Regions from separate parts of the Homo sapiens genome. Here region 2 is linked to region 1. The links are contacts of gene promoters, found by promoter capture Hi-C in human tissues and cell types (Jung and others, 2019). All regions are on one chromosome and are shown on one strand. The core of a region is centred on a gene start or on the middle of the fragment in contact, and the rest is flanking DNA. Distances in the headings are between cores, read along the strand shown.

Region 1 (4,878 bases), core at 1,825-4,324:
CTGTTCTGGGCCTTCTTCACAGCTTTCTACCACTTCTCACTTTTGTTCCCAGTTTATTGATCTGGGAACAGTTTTTTAGTACTCCCACTAGCACCAACACATAAAACGTGGGTGAAATGGTGATGCAGTTTGGCTGTGTCCCCACCCGGATCTCATCTTAAATTCCCACTTGTTGCAGGAAGGACCTGGTGGGAGGTAATTGAATCATGGGGGCAGGTCTTTCCCATGTTGTTCTCATGATAGTGAATAAGTCTCACGAAATCTGATGATTTTATAAGGGGAGTTTCCCTGCACAAGCTCTTTCTTTGCCTGCTGTCATCCATGTAAGATGTGACTTGCTCCTCCTTGCCTCCTGCCATGATTATGAGGCCTCCCCAGCCACACGGAACTGTGAGTCCATTAAACCTTCTTCCTGTGTAAATTGCCCATCTTGGGCATGTCTTTATCGGCAGCATGAAAATGGACTAATGCAAATGGCTTTGAGATATAAAAAAGTTTTAAATTACACTAAAGTCACAAGTCAGAGTTCCAATGTCTGTAAACAACAGTGCAGTTCCCATGATCCTGATGAAAACCTGCAGACATCTCTGTATACCGGCTGAGATGGTGCCACCATACAGCAACAGTGTGAGTGCAGTTTCTATCATTCACTCAGCTGCTCAGCTTTGAAATGATTCTTGACCAAAACATTCATTCATTAATTAGCAAAAAAGACTTATTTTTAATTTGAGATGTGAACTATTTCAAAACTTGCTCATAAAGTCAGGTTTGATTAATGTTATTTTATTTCATATTAGTTCCTATTTGCCCAGTTGAAATACACGTAAACACAACCTTGCTGAAAATCACTAGCATGTGGCGGACAGCGCAAAGAAAACAAAACATTTCCCAGGCAATGCTTAGAGCTCCTGATTATTTAAAAGCTCTGAGGGGAAAATAAATTTAAAGTAATGTTTGAAATGACAGTAAACAGGTGGATTTATAAAAATAAAAATATACAATGTTTAAGGTTCATTTATCTCCATACATAAAATAAATAAATAAAAGCCCTCTCTTTACTGAAGAAGACAGAACACACAAATGCAACTCCTTTCCTTTAAGAGACTTCATTAAAATGATAACAAAGGCATTTTTAAAAACAAGTAGGTCCAGATGAGGCGTAGTGGCTCATACCTGTAATTCCAGTACTTTGGGAGGCTGAGACAGGTGGATCACTTGAGGTCAGGAGTTTGAAACCAGCCTGGCCAATATGGCAAAATCATCTCTACTAAAAATACAAAAATTAGCTGGGCGTGGTGGCAGGTGCCTGTAATCCCAGCTACTCAGGGGGCTGAGGCAGGAGAATCGAGTGAACCTGGGAGGCAGAGGTTGCAGTGAGCCGAGAAGGCAACACTACACTCCAGCCTGGGTAACACAGCGAGTCCCTGTCTCAAAAACAAACAAACAAACAACAACAACAAAAAAACAGGTATGTCCAGACAATAATGTAATAATGTGGCAAACTGGAGAAGGCACATTAGCTGATGAGAGCTTTCTCCATGGTTGTGGGTAATGGAAAGCAGTGACGGCCTGGTAGTTGAGGAATTAGGGCAGAGGGGCATTAGACTAGAGTAGAAGGGGCTCCAGCCAAACAAGACTCTGCAGACCCTGGAGAGGGTCTGAAACACCAGGAACAATGGTGGGAACGTACTTGGGCAGAAAATTAAAAATAAGTGTCAATGGAATCTACCCTTTGCCCTGCCTGGCCCCGTGCCATAAGACAAAAACAAAATTGAAAACGAAAGCAAAACCTTTCCTATATCCTGATATTTAAAATTCTGGCAGTGTTTGGTGGCTCATACCTATAATCCCAGCACTTTGGGAGGCTGAGGCAGGAGGATCACTTGAGCCTAGGGGTTTGAGACCAGCCTGGCCAACACGGCGAGACCCCCATCTCTATAAAAAATAAAAAATATTAGCTGAATTTAGTGGCATGCACCTGTAGTTCCAACTACTTGAGAGGATTGCTCCTGGTGGGAGGATTGCGTTAGCCCGGGAGGTCGAGGCTGCAATGAACCATCATTATGCCACTGCACTCCAGCCTGGGCAGTAGAGCAAGACCCTGTCTAAAAAAAAAAATCCACAGAAGGTTGAAGGTAAATTTAATAAAATATCTCAAAAAACAGAATTAAAGAAATATTTAAAATATGAAAAAATATTAAAGGTCTGGAGAATCAAACTGTGAGGTCCCTATCTAAGTGACGGGAGATGCAGACATGACACAGAAAAGTAGAAGGAAGAAAGTGTCGAGGTGGTAACATAAAAATATTTCCCATGCTGCACATGCTGGCATGTGCTTGTGGTACCAGCTGCTTGGGAAGCTGAGGCAGGAGAATCACTTGAGCCCAGTAGTTCTGGGCTACAGTGAGCCATGATCATGCCACCGCACTCTGGCTTGGATGACAGAGTAAGAACCTATCTCTAAAAACATAAAAAAAAAAAATAAAATTAATTTAAAAAATAAAAATAAATCATAATTTTTTCCAAAGTTGAAAGACGCAAAAGGGCTCTCACTAGGTGCCTAGCACAGTAGATGAAAATACCTCATACAGTTCTGTGAGTTGGCTGGGCTCAGCCAGGCAGTTCTCACCTTGAGTGATGGTGCTCCCCAGCCACTGAACCTAAGAAGATAGGGTTTTCCTACCCTGTATTTTCAAGTAATGGGAATCAGAGCCAACTTCATTTTCCAGCCCTCTCCTCCTTACTTACCGCACTCCAGCTGTTACCAGTAGGGAATCTGATGTGTCTGCAGCAGCAACTCTATTCTTCCCTCCTCAGAGGAAAAAATTCGCCCAAGGGGCATAAGGTAGAGTAAGAAACCAAGATAACTTTTAGAGCAGGAGTGAAAGTTTTTAAAAAAGTTTTAGAGAGGAATGAAAGGAAGTAAAGTATACTTGGAAGAGGACCAAGCGGGTGACTTGAGAAATCCCAGTGCACTGTACAACCCTTAATGTGGGGTTTTATATGTTGGCACGGTTCTGGGATTTGCGTTTCTTCTCTCCTGATCCTTCCCTTGGAGCAGGCTGTCCACTTATGCAGTGGTCTGCCAGCACTTGGGAGTGGCCGCACTCACAGTGTGTTTACTGAAGTTGTGCGCGTGCTCATTTGAGGCATTTTTCCCTTGCCAGTCGAGAATTCCTAGAGGAAGGTCATATATTAGTTAAACTCTGACATTTTGCCCCTTAGGGCCCATGCTTGAGCCCACTTGCCCAACTCCTGAGATCTTATCAGGAAGCGGCTGACACTAGCTTCAGGTGTTTTCTATCTATTGGGAGCCGGCCTTTCCCTGGTGCTGGCTGCAACCAATGATGATTTTAGAGAAACAGTGTAACAACCACCTGACCATCACATGATGGTCGCCTGACATTCCTGGTTGGGGGTGGGGGTGGAATGCCCTCTGCTGCCCTTCTCATGTTCCCCTAGCTACCTACTCTAACACAGGTATGTATGCCTTTCTGAACTTTCTTGAATGTGTCAGACTTATTTTAACCCCAAAGACTTTTTTTTGCTATTGCCTTTGACTACAATATGACTTCCCTGTATTTTTGCATGACACATTACTCCTCACAATTCAAGTCACATCTCAAATGTCACCTCCTCAGGAAAGATGTTGTGCTGCTCATCACACCTAAAATAGCAACTTTCAGGTCGGGCACAGTGACTCATGCCTGTGATCCCAGCACTTTGGGAGGCCGAGGTGGGTGGATTACTTGAGGTTAGGAGTTCAAGACCAGCCTGGCGAACATGGTAAAACCCCCTCTCTACTAAAAAGACAAAAATTAGCCGGGCGTGGTGGCAGGTGCCTGCTATCCCAGCTATTTAGGAGGCTAAGGCAGGAGAACTGCCTGAACCCAGAGGTGGAGGTTGCAGTGAGCCAAGATCGCACCACTGCACTCCAGCCTGGGTGACAGAGTGAGACTCTATCTGGAGGGAAAGAAAAAATGCAACTTCTATTCTCCACCTATCCCTTTAGCCTATTTAAATTCTTCATAGCACTTACAATGACCAAATCCTTTTTTTTTCTTTTCTTTATTATCTGTCTCCTCCATGAGAGTAGGGACTTTGTCTTATTCATCATTATACAGATGGTTCTGGAGCCACCCAACAAGTTCTTCTTCCCCACTGCACAGACAAAAATCAATTCACTGAGACCATGGCATTGCAATAGAGAAAGAGTTTAACTGCCGCGAGGCTGAGCCCACGTGGGAGAACTGGAGTTATCCCTCAGATCAGTCTCCCTGTAGGCTCGGAACAAGGGTTTTTATGGACAATTTGGTTGTCAGGGGGTAGGGGGATAGTGCCGCTGATTGGTTGGGGATGAAATCATACCGGTGTGGAAAGCAGTCCTCATGCACTGAGTCTGCCTCTGGGTGGGGCCCCAGGACCTGTTGAGTCATGAGTCATGAGTCTGAGTGAGGTCAGTCTGAAAAACATCTTAAAAAACTCAATCTTGGCTGGGCGCGGTGGCTCACGCCTGTAATCCCAGCACTTTGGGAGGCCCAGGTGGGTGGATCACAAGATCAGGAGTTCGAGACCAGCCTGGCCAAGATGGTGAAACCCCGTCTCTACTAAAAATACAAAAACAAACAAACAAACAAACACCCCAATCTTAAGTTCTACAATAGTGATGTTACTTACAGGAGCAATTGGGAAAGTCACAGATCTTGTGAACTCTGGCCACATGACCCCTGGGCATTAAGGGACTATAGAAACTATGCCTACATTTTAGCAGAGTTCTGCCTTCTCCCATTATCCTATTCCTGTGGCCTTTCATTAGTCTTACAAAGGCGATTTTGGTCCCTGAGAAAGGAGGGGGTTAGTTTTAGGGAGGGACTATTA
Region 2 (4,609 bases), core at 1,466-3,965, 70 kb after region 1:
AAGAATTTTAATTAGTAGAAAGAGGATTTATAGTATGAAGATTGTGTATAATATTTTAGTAGTCTCTTGTGCTTTTTTAATGTTTATTTCCGCTCTAGGTAGATGTCCTTTAAAAGGAAAAGTAAATGAGTTATGTCTTTTCTTCATACTGATGCTGTATTTATGTGCTGATCAGTAGGTTTTAGTAATATTGTTTGATTGGTTCAGATATAAATATGTGAAAAAAATACCCTCTTAATTTAGCAATCTTGTCAATGAATGCCATGAAATATTGGGAAAATGTTGGTAAATATTCACATTACTTTTGGATATTAAATATTATAGGACTTAGCTTAGAATTTTCTGCATTCTGGTGTATTGCTTGACACAGTGCTTGTGTTCAAGCAATGCTACAGGCTCCTATAAATTACTTGGTAGGTTCACGTTCTCATGTTGTGGGATTCAGGAGGACAAGAGAGACCTCGGGTTAAAACAGGAGAAACTTTATTGAGTGCACTTAGGCCCAGCTGACTCAACGTCTAAAAGACTGGGCCCGGAACAAAGACTTTTATACACAGTTCACAGAAGGGGGTGGGCTAGCTTGAAGCAAGCTTACAGTGGCGTGAAAGCAGGGATACAGAGGCAGGACAAACTCAGGATTGCACATGACCGTTGCCAAGCAACCCAGATGTCCGTTATCTAGGTTTGCCTGGGCTTATCCCATAATCTTCACTATGGTGCCCAGGCAGCTGCAGTTCAGGCCTACTCAGGCTTCTCATGACATTCATTGTACTTCTCAGATAAAACAATACTTGAAGTCACTAGTTACAGAGAACAGGAATCTATGAACTCATTCCGTAAAACAAAGGAAAATTTATTTTTTCTTCTCTGCATGTTGAGTGCTGGGAGAATCTCCAGAGCACACTAGATAATATTATCAAGGCTTTTCCTGGGTCTGGGCCGTGCCTGTTGCTGCCTCTGGGACAAGTCGGCCTAATACAGGAAAGCTTATTTATCTTTCTTTTTAATTTTATTTTTCTTTAATTTCCCACCTCACTCACTTATAAGTGGGAGCTAAACCTTGGGTACTCAGACATAAAGATGGCAAAAGTAGAAGCTGGAGACTACTAGAGGAGGAGGGAGGGCGTGAGCTAAGGGTTGAAAAACCAACTTGGTATGACGATCAGTACCTGGGTGGTGGGATCATCCATATTGCAAACCTCAGCATCATGCAATATATCCAGGTCACCAGCCTGTACCTATACCCCCTGAATCTAAAATAAAAGTTGAAAAAAAAATTAATTGGAAGGAAGAGGGCTTAAATTTAATCTGCCACTTACACTTAGAGTCCAGTTTTTTTTTTTTTTTTTTAAAGAGACGGAGTCTCGCACTGTCGCCTGGGCTGGAGTGCAATGGCGCGATCTCGGCTCACTGCAACCTCTGCCTCCTGGGTTCAAGTGATTCTCCTGCCTCAGCCTCCCGAGTAGCTGGGATTACAGGTGCCTGCCACCACGCCCGGCTAATTTTTTGTATTTTTAGTAGAGATGGGGTTTCACTATGTTGGCCAGGCTGGTCTTGAACTCCTGACCTCATGATCCACCTGCCTCAGCCTCCCAAAGTGCTGATATTACAGGCGTGAGCCACTGCACCTGGCCCAGAGTCCAGTTTTCTTAAATGGGAAACTTAAACCAAAGTCTATTTTCCTACAAAGTCTTCGTTGGATTTTTTCATAATCTTTTGGATTTTCCATGTACCTTCTCACCTCACCCTAACATAGAAAAATCTTCTCTCTTATTCTGGTTATAAGGTCATCATCATCTTTTTCTTCTTTTTTCTTTTTTTTTTTGAGACAGGGTCTTGCTCAGGCTGGAATGCAGTAGCACAACCATGGCTCACTGCAGCCTGCCTGCCAGGCTCAAGTAATCCTCCCACCTCAGCCTCCCAAGTAGCTGGGACTGTAGGTACACACCACCAGGCCTGGCAAATTACATTTTTTTTTATAGAAAAGGGGTCTTGCCATGTTTCCTAGGCAGATCTCACCATGTTTCCTAGGCTGATCTCGCCATGTTTCCTAGGCTGATCTCCAACTTCTAGGCTCAAAGGAGCCTCCTGCCTCAGCCTCCCAAAGTGCTGGGATTATAGGTGTGAGCTACTACTGCACCTGAACCTTTTTTTTTGATAGAAAATGTGAAAAGTGCGTTAACATTTTGAAGCATGTATTTGCCCCCAATTTCAATGTGTATATATACTCATAAAATTAAAAGACAGTTTTACTTTAAGAAATGAAAAATTAAAAAATTAAACAGTTTTTTGTCCATTAGTTTTTTTGTTTGGTCCTCAAAGCTGTCTCCCTTGGTTGCTCTTAACTTGTTTTTGGGTTGCAAACCATTTTGAGAAGTCGATGAGAGCTGGCCTCCTGCCCAAAGGGATGTAGACAAAAATATGTAACATTTTGCATATCCTCCCCACCGAGACTGAGTCTTGCTGTGTCACCCAGGCTGGAGTGCAGTGGTGTGATCTCAGCTCACTGCAGTGTCCGCCTCCTGGGTTCTAGCAGTGCTCTTGCCTTAGCCACCTGAGTATCCGGGACTACAGATGCCCACCGCTAGGCCTGGTTAATTTTTGTGTTTTTAGTAGAGACGGGGTTTCACCATGTTGGCCGCGCTACTCTCGAACTCGTGATCTACCCACCTCAAAGTGCTGGGATTTCAGGCGTGAGCCACCATGCCCAGCACATTTTGCGTGTTAATTTTAGAATGATCGCAGACTCCCAAAGGTTCACTGATACTTGATTAGGAGCTTTTTTTTTGAGATGGAGTCTTGCTGTCGCCCAGGCTGGAGTGCAGTGGTGCTATCTCGGCTCACTGCAACCTCTGCCTCCCGTGTTCAAGCGATTCTCCTGCCTCAGCCTCCCGACTAGCTGGGATTACAGGCGTGCACCACCACACCTGGCTAATTTTTTTGATATTTTTAGTAGAGATGGGTTTCACCATGTTGGCCAAGCTGGTCTCGAACTCCTGACCTCAGGTGATCTGCCCGCTTCAGCCCCCCAAAGTGCTGGTGTATCTGGAGTTGGTTCCTTCTGGTGGGTTCTTGGTCTCGCTCACTTCAAGAATGAAGCCGCAGACCTTCGCAGTGAGTGTTACAGCTCTTAAATGTGACGCAGACCCAAAGAATGAGCAGCAGCAAGATTTATTGTGAAGTGTGAAAGAACAAACCTTCCACAGTGTGGAAGGGGACCCTAGTGGGTTGCCACTGCTGGGTAGGGTGGCCAGCTTTTATTCCCTTATTTGTCCCTGCCCATGTCCTGCTGATTGGTCCATTTTACAGAGTGCTGATTGGTCCATTTTATAGAGTGCTGATTGGTCCATTTTATAGAGTGCTGATTGGTCCATTTTACAAACCTCTAGCCACAGAGCACTGATTGGTGCGTTTTACAATCCTCTAGCTAGCTACAGAGCGCCGATTGGGGCGTTTTACAATCCTAGCTACAGAGAGCTGATTGGTGCATTTTACAATCCTCTTGTAAGAAAAGTTCTTCACGTCCCCCCCACCCCCGCCCCGACCCAGAAGTCCAGCTGGCCGTTGGATTGGCAGAGGATGAGAAAAATGGGGTCTGGTTTGCTGACACTGTGTCATTACACAAAGAATAGAATGACAGAGTATCCTGTGCTGTCCTCTTTCAGTTTTCGTGGTTATAAAGAGAAGGTATCTTCTAAGGCAGAAGTCATTTGTCTTCAATTAGCAATTTATTGGATTATGGACAGGATTCTATTCATAAGTTTGAAGTTGATTGGCTTAATCTGTGATCAGAAAAGGGTGATTTCGATTGGTTAAAGAAAAAAGAATCTAAATTGTATTTGGTGCCTGTTACATGGAAAGCACTATTCTAAGCATATTGCCTTTATAAAAGGGGATTCATTAACATTGCAAAATAAAGTAGTTATGTGATTTTTGCATTTTACGTGGCATCAAATGTTTCCTGAATTGCGTCTCTTTGTAATTCATTATACATCATCTTTTTTTTTTTTTTTTGAGACAGAATCTTGTTTAGTCTCCCAGGCTGGAGTGCAGTGGCGCGATCTCTGCTCACTGAAACCTCCGCCTCCCAGGTTCAAGTGATTCTTCTGCCTCAGCCTCCTGAGTAGCTGGGACTACAGGCGCATGCCACCATGCCCTGCTAATTTTTGTATTTTTAGTAGAGACGGGGTTTCACCATATTGGCCAGGTTGGTCTGGAACTCCTGACCTCATGATCCGCCTGCCTTGGCCTCCCAAAGTGCTGGGATTACAGGCGTTGAGCCACTGGGCCCAGCCACATCATCTTTTTATGGAGTCATTTTCCATATTTACTCTTCTGGTTATTTTTACCTTGTATATAACAGCAGTTGCAATGAGAACTTAGATAAAGGAAAGGGGCTTATAGCTAACAGCTTAGCTTCTTGTTAGTCAGTAGGGACTCTCCAGTATGTGTGTATAAATGAGGATGAACTTTTCTGGCTATGATTTTTTAAGTTTTTTATTTTTATCAGAATTCCACATGCTCATTAAATGTCAAGTTGCAATAAAGTTTGTTTTGGAAAAAGCAATCCCCCAACCCCCCTGTCCCATTTCCTGTTCCCCTAAGGCAG

What was found. The method cuts DNA at HindIII sites, captures the fragments that hold promoters and counts their contacts. A contact is called where the count stands out against the background at its distance.
Region 2: a contact is called between a fragment that was not itself captured here and the fragment with the promoter of TACC2 in region 1, in 4 of the 25 tissues and cell types used here (heart left ventricle, liver, pancreas and 1 more).

Annotation. Positions count from the first base shown.
Region 1 is chr10:121,987,359-121,992,236 of GRCh38, reverse strand. It overlaps TACC2 (transforming acidic coiled-coil containing protein 2), which reads right to left and starts at 3,074. Exons shown (of 23, transcript NM_206862.4): 1 at 2,749-3,074. The HindIII fragment of the contact is 30,860 bases long and covers 1-4,878 here.
Region 2 is chr10:121,917,738-121,922,346 of GRCh38, reverse strand. All of the region lies in intron 3 of ATE1 (arginyltransferase 1), which reads left to right. Among named protein-coding and RNA genes, the nearest start is that of ATE1, 8.0 kb to the left of the region's middle. The HindIII fragment of the contact is 7,719 bases long and covers 1-4,609 here.